Linked DNA regions of Homo sapiens: region 2 is linked to region 1. The links are contacts of gene promoters, found by promoter capture Hi-C in blood cells and fetal thymus (Javierre and others, 2016). All regions are on one chromosome and are shown on one strand. The core of a region is centred on a gene start or on the middle of the fragment in contact, and the rest is flanking DNA. Distances in the headings are between cores, read along the strand shown. Region 1 holds the start of MBL2 (mannose binding lectin 2). Region 2 overlaps LOC105378305 (a long non-coding RNA gene).

The links. The method cuts DNA at HindIII sites, captures the fragments that hold promoters and counts their contacts. A CHiCAGO score of 5 or more calls a contact.
Region 2: a fragment that was not itself captured here is called in contact with the fragment with the promoter of MBL2 in region 1 in 2 of 17 cell types (fetal thymus and megakaryocytes); the score reaches 6.0 in fetal thymus.

What each region holds. Positions count from the first base shown.
Region 1 is chr10:52,771,534-52,776,808 of GRCh38, forward strand. It overlaps MBL2 (mannose binding lectin 2), which reads right to left and starts at 1,251. Exons shown (of 5, transcript NM_001378373.1): 1 at 1,204-1,251; 2 at 1-111. The coding sequence starts at 102. The HindIII fragment of the contact is 7,250 bases long and covers 1-5,275 here.
Region 2 is chr10:52,595,796-52,601,070 of GRCh38, forward strand. All of the region lies in intron 1 of LOC105378305 (a long non-coding RNA gene), which reads right to left. Among named protein-coding and RNA genes, the nearest start is that of LNCAROD, 130 kb to the left of the region's middle. The HindIII fragment of the contact is 3,439 bases long and covers 574-4,012 here.

The DNA of each region.
Region 1 (5,275 bases), core at 1-2,500:
TGCAGGGCAGGTCTTTTGGGCATCCTCACAGGTCACAGTTTCTGAGTAAGACGCTGCCACCATACTCAGGAGAAGGAGAGGGAGTGATGGAAACAGGGACATGGTCCTCACCTTGGTGTGAGAAAACTCAGGGAAGGTTAATCTCAGTTAATGAACACATATTTACCGAGCATGCCCTCTGTCCTACAATCTGGGTGCAGGCTATATAGAAATAGATGACCCATCCCTGGCCTCTAGCTGGGGATTTGGAAAAGTAAACATTCCTTGTGACACTGCGTGACTAGTACTTTAACAAAGGTAGGCACTATGATGAGCAGTGGGGATCCTAAGGAGGGGTTCATCTGTGCCTAGACACCTGGCGTTGCTGCTGGAAGACTATAAACATGCTTTCGGTGGCAGTGAGAACAAATGGGACCGTGCATTGCCAGCTGGCTTATGCCTGTTAGCTTAGGGAATGAGAATGAGTGGAAACCCAGGTGTCTGTAGGAGCTTCCTCTTTCTCTCCATGTCCTCTTCGGGTCCATCTGCCACCTGAATCCCATCTTTGTATCTGGGCAGCTGATTCCCCTCCAGGACCTGTTAACTATCATTTACTCATTGGCAGGCCCTGAGCTGAAAGCTGGTGATCCAAAGAGGAAGGTCTCAACCTCAGATCAACCTCAACCTTAGTCACCAACCCAGCCCAGAATTAACTGGAGTTTGCTTCCCCTTGGTGTTTTAGACAGGCTTGCCTGGGTAAGCATTTTCTCTGGAAATTTCTTACTACGTTGGCCCTGGCAGAGTGCTAAATACCTCTCTACTTTCTGGCAGGAATTCCCCATGTTCTGTGAGTCAAAAACCACTGGCAATTAGAAAACTTGCCTTGAATCCTCCTCCCATTTCTCAGTATTAACCTTTCATTTGTTCTTCAGAGCTTTCTTCCAGCTATTGCCCCCTAAGAAACCTCAGCAGCCTAGCCCCATAGGTCTAAGCCTCCAAGTTTCCCTTTGAAAACAAAGACAGTCTCCACTGCAGATGAACAGATAATGGAGGAAAGTCACAGATGCTCCAGCACAAGCAGAAAAAGAGACATCCTCAACCTGATTTCTGCTTTCCATCCCACTCCCCCCACCCCTAGAAAGCCTCCTCCATGCCTCCAGGGTCATGTCAGCTCCCCAAACCCTTGATCCGGAAACCCAGATTTATTCACCAGAAATGACTTACTGGTGTTTCTGCAGAGCAGGGACTCAGTGACAAGGACGCTGGCCCTCTAGCCTGGGGCTCTGGCAGATGCCTCAGAGTGAGGGAGGAGGCTGGGCTCAGCAATGTAGGGCCCAATCAACCTTGTGAACAAGGATATCCTGGGCCTGGCCTTCAACTCCAGATTAATAAACAGCTCTTCTCAGAACTATGAGAAATTTAGGAGCCTCCAATACAGTGCTCGGCAGCTGTCTGCTTTAATACAGCACAATTCCTCTTTCAATTGCCATCCATTTTGGCAAATCTCATTGCTGAACTACCACAGCTAGGTTCACCTAGTTAGTCCTGTTGACATCCTTGTTTCCAACAGAAAAACAAAGATACTCACAAATGCATACACATGCTCATGCACACCAACTATACACACAGACACGTGCATGCACGCACACACCCATCCATGAAACCACATAGACCTCTTGCTGCCATTAATGCATTAAGGCCATTCCTGCCTCAGACTCTTCATTTGATGTCTCCATGCCTGGACCCCTTACGGGCATCGCCAGCTAGCTCTTTCTCTTCTATTCAAATATTCCAATTTCAGAGAAATCAGTACCTTGATCACTTATTCTAAAATAGTCCTACCTAGCAGTCTCTATCCTCTTAGCCTGAATTATTTTCTCTCATGTTACTTACACTTTATGATATTATAGTCATTGACTTTACTTTTCCAGTTTTTCATTGTGGTAAAATAGACATAAAATTTACCATTTTGACCATTATTATTAAGCACACAACTCAGTAGCATTAAGTACATTCACACGGTTGTGCTATCATCACCACATCATGGGATGATTTTCATCATCCCAAACTGAAACTCTCAACTCATTAAACTAGAATTCTCCATTTACCCCTACCCACAGCCACTGGTAACTTCTGTTTTACTTTCTGTCTCTCTGAATTCATCTATCCTAGGTACCTCATATATGTGAAATCATACAATAGCCCCCTTGTATCTGGCTTATTTCACTTAGCACAATGTCTTCAAATTTCATCCTCATAACAAGAATTGTAAACTGTGTTAAAGACTTTGGGTTTCCTTCCAGGGGGCACTAGAGGGACTGCAGTAGTGGAGAGGTGATCACATTTGAATTTTGCAAGGCTTGTTCTGGCTATGATGTTGAGGGGAACAGGACTGGAGAAAAGCAGATCTAAAAGGAAGTGCTTGCCATGATCTAAGCAGCAGAAGACAGTGGCCTGGGTCAGGGTAATGGCAGCTAGATTAAGAAGGTAGGCACACTTGAGAAACAGGAGGTATTGATTGCACTTGAGAATTAGCTAGAATAGTGAGTGATAATAAGAAGTTTTCATGGGCACACACATTTATGACTTGACTATCTAGGAGCCACTCAACTGAGATAAGAAGCAAAAGAACAGCACTTGGCACTATAAGATCATGGGTATCGTGTGTGTTAATGGCTTGAACCATCTTGCTGTGGTTAATGGGGACAATCTAGAAGGGATGGAAGAATACTTTTACGAACATAGTTCATTTGATTCTCAACTACATTACTGATATGGCTTTCAGAAAAATGCCATGTAGCTTGGGGTGTTGGGGAGCCCATCCTGAGAAGTTCAGAGGCTGCGGGGCCATGTGGTGGGGGTACTATGGAGGCCTCCAAACACCAAAAGAAATGTGAGTAAGATGCATTTCCAGGTCCCTTCCAATTGAAGTCTTCTTGGCTTGTGGAGGGACTGGCTTCCTTACTTCCTGCTGACCTGTCTGCTGTGCCTGGAAAAATGTCCAGGATGGTACAGAGCCACATGCCTAAAGCCATCAGTGGATATCAGGAGATCCAGGGCCTAAAGAAGACAGGGCCTGAGAAGACTTGTTTCCCTTCTTATTCTTTAGCAGCCAGAGCTTCCCCCTGCTCCTGCTCCAGTGGCAGAAGGTGAGGTGAGGTAGTTGACTCCAGGTCACTGGCGGTGCTGGCTTTAATCACAGTGCTTGCTTTCATTGTTTACCTAGTCCAGAGGTCAGGAAACTGCTCTCCAGACCCTGAAATTTCCTAGAACTGGGTTCAGAGGGTGTGGGTATCTGGGGGAAAGTCAATCTAGCAATTGATCCGGAGATTGGAGTGTCACCCAGTTACATCCTGCTCTCCAGAAGGCCTTTCCCAAAAGGAGAGGCCACTCTCCACATGCCGCAGCCTGAATGTCTCTCTCCACACGAATGCCCACTCTGCACTCCACCCCATAGATAAGGCCACTGTGTGCATTTGTTCTGGACTTTAAAACCCTTCCCAGCCAGGCGTGGTGGCTCACTCCTGTAATCCCAGCACCTTGGGAGGCCGAGGCGGGCGGATCATGAGGTCAGGAGATTGAGACCATCCTGGCTAACACAGTGAAACCCCATCTCTACTAAAAAATACAAAAAAAAAAAAAACAACAAACTAGCCGGGCGTGGTGGCGGGTGCCTGTAATCCCAGCTACCCAGGAGGCTGAGGCAGGAGAATGGAGTGAGCCCGGGAGGCGGAGCTTGCAGTGAGCTGAGATTGCACCACTGCGCTCCAGCCTGGGCGACAGAGCCTCTCCGTCTAAAAAAAAAAAAAACTTTCCACTTTCCTAACACTGCTTCCATTCTGGCAGCGCCACAACAAATCCACCTCACCCCAAGAGGCTGCAGAGAAAACTGCCTCTCTGACCTGCAGGAGGACTGCCTGGTGCCCTACATCCCCTTTTTTGTAGACTAGGGTGAAATCCCAGCTCTCCCACTTCCCAACAGTGTGACCTTATTCAAGTTCCACTGCCTTCATGTCCTCAGTTTCCTCGTCTGGGAAAGAGGGCACCGCTGCCTTGGCTGTGGAGTGGTGTGTCCTTAACTGGTCCACATTCAGAGTGCATGGCACGTGGCTCACCATGACAGCCTGCTTAAGAAAGGCCTTCATTCCCTCCAGGGTGACTGTTCAAGAGTCTTCTCAGCTTGGGAAGCAGTGTTCTTGGGTGGCTCCATGTGAGAGGCATGGTTTGAGATTGGAAACCAGAAGGCTTGGTTTTGTCTCATGAATATGAGCTTAGATAGACCCCATATTCTGGCCGAACCTCAGTTTTACATCTTTCAAATCAGATTTTGAACCTCATTCCCTTTTCCACAGAGCTGCTGTGAGTAGGACAATAGCAATGAGAATGTTATTGCTCTCCAAGTGAGGACCATCAGGAATATGCTTATAGTCAGATAAAATGGATTTATTATTTTTAGTTTCTTTTAACTGTTTGTTCCAACAGGGATATTGAGCACAATGGTGTACCCTAGGATTTCTCAGTAACAGGGTGTCGGGAGGGGATTTCTATAAGACTTGTTTTGTTTTAGTTGGTTTTGGGGGAAGGGGTTTAAGAAGCAGGAGTCTGTTCTGGATAGGGTGCTGTCCGTAAGCTGGGCAATTCTGTGATTGTGCATCTTAACTTTTATTTAGGAGATAAGTAGAACAGAGCAAGGCGAAGCTGTATTTTGTAAAAGAGTGGCAGATGTTTATATTAAGCAGGAGAGGGGCATGTTTTTCGTTTTTGTGGTTCACAGAGCAACCTTTTCTGTCTATATGAAGACATGATTTTGGAATGATTTGGGATCTCACAACAGAGTAATATTGTTGTACACCGGTATTCTGTGGAAGTGTTTAGGGTCAGCAGGGAATACCATGGTCTGGCCATGAGAGACAGGCTGTGAGAGACAGCTGACAGCGGTAGGCTGCTTTCTTGTTGTCAGCAGTGTCCTTTGTAACCCTAAGGCCTGACCTTCCCATACTTTTCATCCTGTACTGTCCTGTGTTCCAGTCCTGCTATTTTTTCTTTGCTTGTTTTTGCTCATGAACTCTCTGAGAATGTGTAAATGTCACAGGCCTTCTTTTTAACCAACACAAATACACAGGCGCACTGCATCTGGCAAGGACTACCTTAGGCCCCTATAGCCATGGGGTGGGTGGTCAGAGGGTGTCATATCTGCCCATGTGATAGAGACATGCTTATCTGTGACATGGCCTTGAACACAGGGTGGCTGCAGTGAAAGGCAGCTCAGTAGTTAGGATAGCAAAGACCTGCTCTT
Region 2 (5,275 bases), core at 1,043-3,542, 170 kb before region 1:
AATGTAATTCTGTTTCATGCTAATACAAACACATAGATACAAGTTTTATAATCTTCTCTTTCATATTTCAACCTATGAACTGGGAATATTAGTGTAAGTTGGCAAGATACTCTTTCCATTTCCAATTTTGTAAGCATTTTAAATACAAATTGTAGAGAGATCTTATTAACACTTGTAGACTTTGCTTTCAGCCATGACAGACAGACAAGGACGTAGAGAAGAGGGCTAAAGCAATAAATTCTTTTTTTTTTTTTGCCTTTTGCAAACATTAATAATGTAAAGTTATGTAGAGCATTTCAGTTTAGCACCCATGTGCTGAATGACAGAATGGTAGTAATCTGTGTAGAAACTGTGACTTTGACTTTCACCAGATTTTTCATTTTTCCTTAGAAAAGTTTCAATTCTATAGTGAATTCAATTGTGATGCCTTTTGGCTATTTTAGATTTTGGAAACAAGCAGAGATTAGAATTCTTCCCAGTGAATCATAGTAAATGTTATAACCAAATAACAAAGTAGGAAATACAAATAGTTGCTATGGATAATTCAGGAAGTAGTTTTGCAAGATTATTAAAAGCTTAGATTTGAGTCAGGTAAACATGATTTGAATCCTGGATGGCCATCCATTAACTATTTATTTTACTTTTGGCAAGTTAATTAATTATATAGGTTTTAAGATGTTGAAATAATCTGATATATCTAAGTCCAGACTAGTAATTGGTGGACAGTAGTGCCCAATTACTATTCTCAATTATTACTAAAGAGAAATATAAATTTCATTAGTAAAGTAAATAAAGTTGAATAAAAATAACCATGATGTATATGATTTCACAAATTACAAAGTTTTGATTTTTAAAAAATGATGCTGGCAAGGGTGTAATAGATAGGTATCCCTACATATGAGGTATATGGTTCTTCTAAAAAGCAACATAAGAAAGAAAAATATCTTTTTCTTTGGTCTAACTACTATACTTGTAGTAATCTTTAAAAGATTAAAACCCGAGGCAGCCAAATATTTATAAAAGAGGATATTTGCAAAATGATTTACATTACAGAAATGTTGGCCAGGTGCGGTGGCTCACACCTATAATCCCAGCACTTTGGGAGGCCGAGGTGGGTAGATCACGAGGTCAGGAGATCGAGACCATCCTGGCTAACATGGTGAAACCCCCATCTCTACTGAAAATGCAAAAAATTAGCTGGGTGTGGTGGCGGGCACCTGTAGTCCCAGCTACTCAGGAGGCTGAGGCAGGAGAATGGTGTGAACCCAGAAGGCAGAGCTTTCAGTGAGCCGAGAGCCCGCCACTGCACTCCAGCCTGGGTGACAGAGTGAGACTTCGTCTCAACAACAACAACAACAAAAAAAAAAGAAATGTTGGACACAGCCTAAATATCTAATAAGAGAAGCATGTTAAATAAAATGTTGATATAACAGTAAAATGAGATAGTACACCGACATTACAATGATATTTGTGAAGATACTTTTAATGTGGTAGTTATAAGTGCATAGATACTTTTAAGGTGGTAGTTATAAGTGCATTAAATAGTACTTGGTCTGTGTGGACCAGATGGGTTGGAACATGTATCCCAAGTCTAAGCCTATCAGAAAAAAATGTTCCCTTGTCTTAAAGATTGTTTTAGGGGCGTGCACCAGATCTAAACATCTCTCATTAGAGTGTACCATTGATATTTTTCTAGAAATATTGGAAAAAATATTTTCTTTTATAAGAGCTTTGGAAAACAATATCTCTCTTTGAATACAGTGGTAAGAGGGTGTAAAGTCTGGAACTGATTCTAGTGGTTTGAGTTCCATACCATAAGGGAAGCTAATATGAGGAAAAGCCAAGTAAAGAAAGTAAATCTGAGAGAAGTGAAAGTAAATAAAACCAGAGCCCAGACGAACTTTTGGTGTGTGCTTGAATCTACTTCTCCTGCTGGATTTTTCAGTTCTATGGCCAATAATATCCTGGATTTTTTTCAGCCAGTTTGAATTGGGTTTACTGACCCTTGAAATATAATAAATTCTAAATGATATACACATGCTATAATACTAAGTCAGGAAGAAATGTGACTTGAAATGATAATATGCAATGTGTTCTCAATTGTGGAAAATACTTATTCACAGAAAACTCTAAAAATGTATAAAAATATTCCTACTTAATGACCATTATTTATTTTTTATTTTTTTACCCATTTTTCAAGTTTCACATTGGGTACCCATTACTTTCATTATCTAAAATATAATATTTATTTTTTCGATCCATATCTTAGGAGGCAAACTGGGCAAGTCATTTGGAATAATACATGAAGATTTGTTTTCAGCTACCAAGGCAATAAAATGCTCCTCTTGAAATAGCAAAAAAAAAAAAAAAACCTTTTGTAATTCATAAAAATCTTGGGGAATATTTATCTCAGTGAGTTAATCTAGCCTGTCTTCCATGCAAACCAGGAATAGGGAAGTTGTTCAGTTGCAGAATGAAATTGATAAATTATCTGTGGTATAATAAGGTACTCTTCAATTTCTACATCTTTATGGAGGATTACATGCAGCTAAGACAGAAACTTGTTCCCTGCCCCTGGAAAAGATGGGCATTGTCTCTTTCCTGGGGTTACTCAGCTTTAAAAAGTTAATTTTAATTGAAATTTTCACATGGTTTTAATAACAGGAAAATAGCCACTATTATAAATTAATAATAGTGATAATGTCACTATCATCAACTGTTTTTAGATTCAGTAATGGTTCCTTTGTACAGTAAAATGCAATAGGCTGATTTCTGATTAATGCATGGTTATCAAACTCAAATATTATTTTAAAAGTGAGCAACAGTAACAATTCTTCAAAATAAAATTGTAATAAAGAGTGTTGCCACAATGTCAAAATCCCACTGCCATAAACACCCACTATTTATCCAAGTGTTTCTGTGGCTTTGGCTGTTACATTAATTTCAGTATTGGTAGGCACTATAGAATTGTTCTCTCATCAAAGCAATGAGTGGAAAAGTACAATTATATATTCTCCAAGTCCTTATTTTTAGCGGATGCCACTTTTCTATTAGATTTGGGAGTGATATACCAAAGTGATAGTATTTGAAATATTTTTCTTACTTCTATGGCAGTATAATATATACATAGATAACCAGAAAATCTGCCTCATCACAAATATAATGTTTTATATGATGATTTGCAGAACAAAACTCCACTTTTCTTGAAGTTATATGCCCTATGTTTGAAGGGTTCCATCAGACAGAACACTTTATTTGATTAGACCTTGAATGATTTACACATTTACACAGGATTAGTGAGACAGACATGCTCCTTTGAAATTGTGCACTCAGACATAGCTGGGCTCATCAGCCTGTGCATTCCAACTGGCCAAGTCCTGCGAGTCCTCACGCTAAGCCCATTCCTGGTTCTGAATCAAAGGTTAATATTTGGAGTAGCTTATCAATATGTATAATCAATAATGATATTATGACACATCAGCTATTACACATTCTGGTATCCTTCAAAACTTTTCTACAGAAAAACTAAATTTAAAATACTGAAAAACAAATAACAAAACAACATTAAAAAATAAAGGTTAGATTTTGAAACAATAGCAATAAATTTTTATTAAGTTCTTATTTATCTGTATATGATAGGAATTGTTTTTATGTCTATACCTTTCCCTCAGATTTTAAGAGATTTCATTTTAAAGAATTTCGTATTGAAAAATAGCCTTAAAGAAAGACGCTCAGTTGATTACAAAAGCATATAACCAAAAGTCACTAAAGAAAATCCCAAAGCAGCCTGCTCAAGTAAGTATAGTCCCTCAGTCTGTAATGAGTGTGTGAAGAGTGATTTAAGTCTGCTTTCTCGATGTGAGATAATGAGATGGAAAATGTGAATGGTCTGCCAATATACTGCTCAGGCACACATGGAAGGGGGTCCTAGGCCTTCTAAAGTCTAGTTCAAGCTCCCAAACACGAAACCACAAAGAGTTAATGATAATTGAGATCATATGCTTCTTATCAAAGCTTCCTTAAAAAAAAAAAAAAAGCAGCTTAAGGGAAAATTCGTAAATATGTGTCTTAACCACAGTCTACCAATCCCCTTCCGCATTGGAGCCTTTAGCTAATTTGTTGACTTAATTACCCAAGGCACAGGAAGGTTAAACAGAGTGATAATCTGATTTTCTCTGATTGCTGATCACTGCAGAAAGTGGTCCGTGGGAAGCAAAAATAAACCTAGAACCTTAGGCTATGTAAAATGGAGAAGTGAGGCAATTATCCAGATAATTCAGGCAAAGTTGACTGTTTACAGTAATCAAATTATCTGGATAAGTACATAACCTACTGTCTGTCTACAGGAACAATGGCTTTAATCATATCATCTGGTCTGATTAAATAAGTTATTCTTTCTATCTGTATTTAGTGTAAATTATTTCAATTTAATAGTCAAATTCATACATAAAAACCTATTATAATACCCTATAAAAATATCATCCCAAATGGTGGGGATATTAATAATATTTTGTCCAAGTAAAGAATGAGTGCTTCTCTTTAAATAATTAGAAAACATGAGACCACAGAAAGAAAAAAAAAATGTGGGAAAAACAAATTTACTGTGGTGAGATTAATGCAAAGTCCTGTATGAAAAGTGAGGTAAGAAAAGTTGAAATTATCATGGTAAATGGAAGTTTATTCCATACCACATCACTAGAAAATTTACATGCTGAAGCTCTCTGATTGTCAAGAGGCACCAAAATAAAATCTTTCAATAGAAGATTCAGTTAACTCATTTTCTTCTCACTTTTAATACTTCGTTGTTTTAGACATTTTAGAAAATACAGAAAATTATAAAGAAAACCAAAATCACAGTCCAGAGAACACCACTCTTAATGTTAATTGCATCTGTTTTTCTGGACTTTTAAATAATTTTATATGATGGTATTTGAGCTTCTGGATCAAATCAGGAATAATTTTTCAATTATGTCCATCAGTTTTGAAAATGGAATTGTAATATATATGCTGTTTTGAAGATGCAGTTTCCATTGGGCAATATCTCAGTGTCTTCTTATATCAGTAAATATGTAGACATGGCATCGTTTTTAATACACTTATCTGAATATGACACAGACATAAGCCCTACTTTTGGGCATTTAGGTTATTTCTAATTTTATTATAAACAGCTAAGTGTTGGATATTCTCACACATGCATGTTTACATACTCACCTGATTTAATTTTTTCCTAGCTTAGATTTCTAGAAATGGTATTACTAAGTCAAAGAAAATGAAC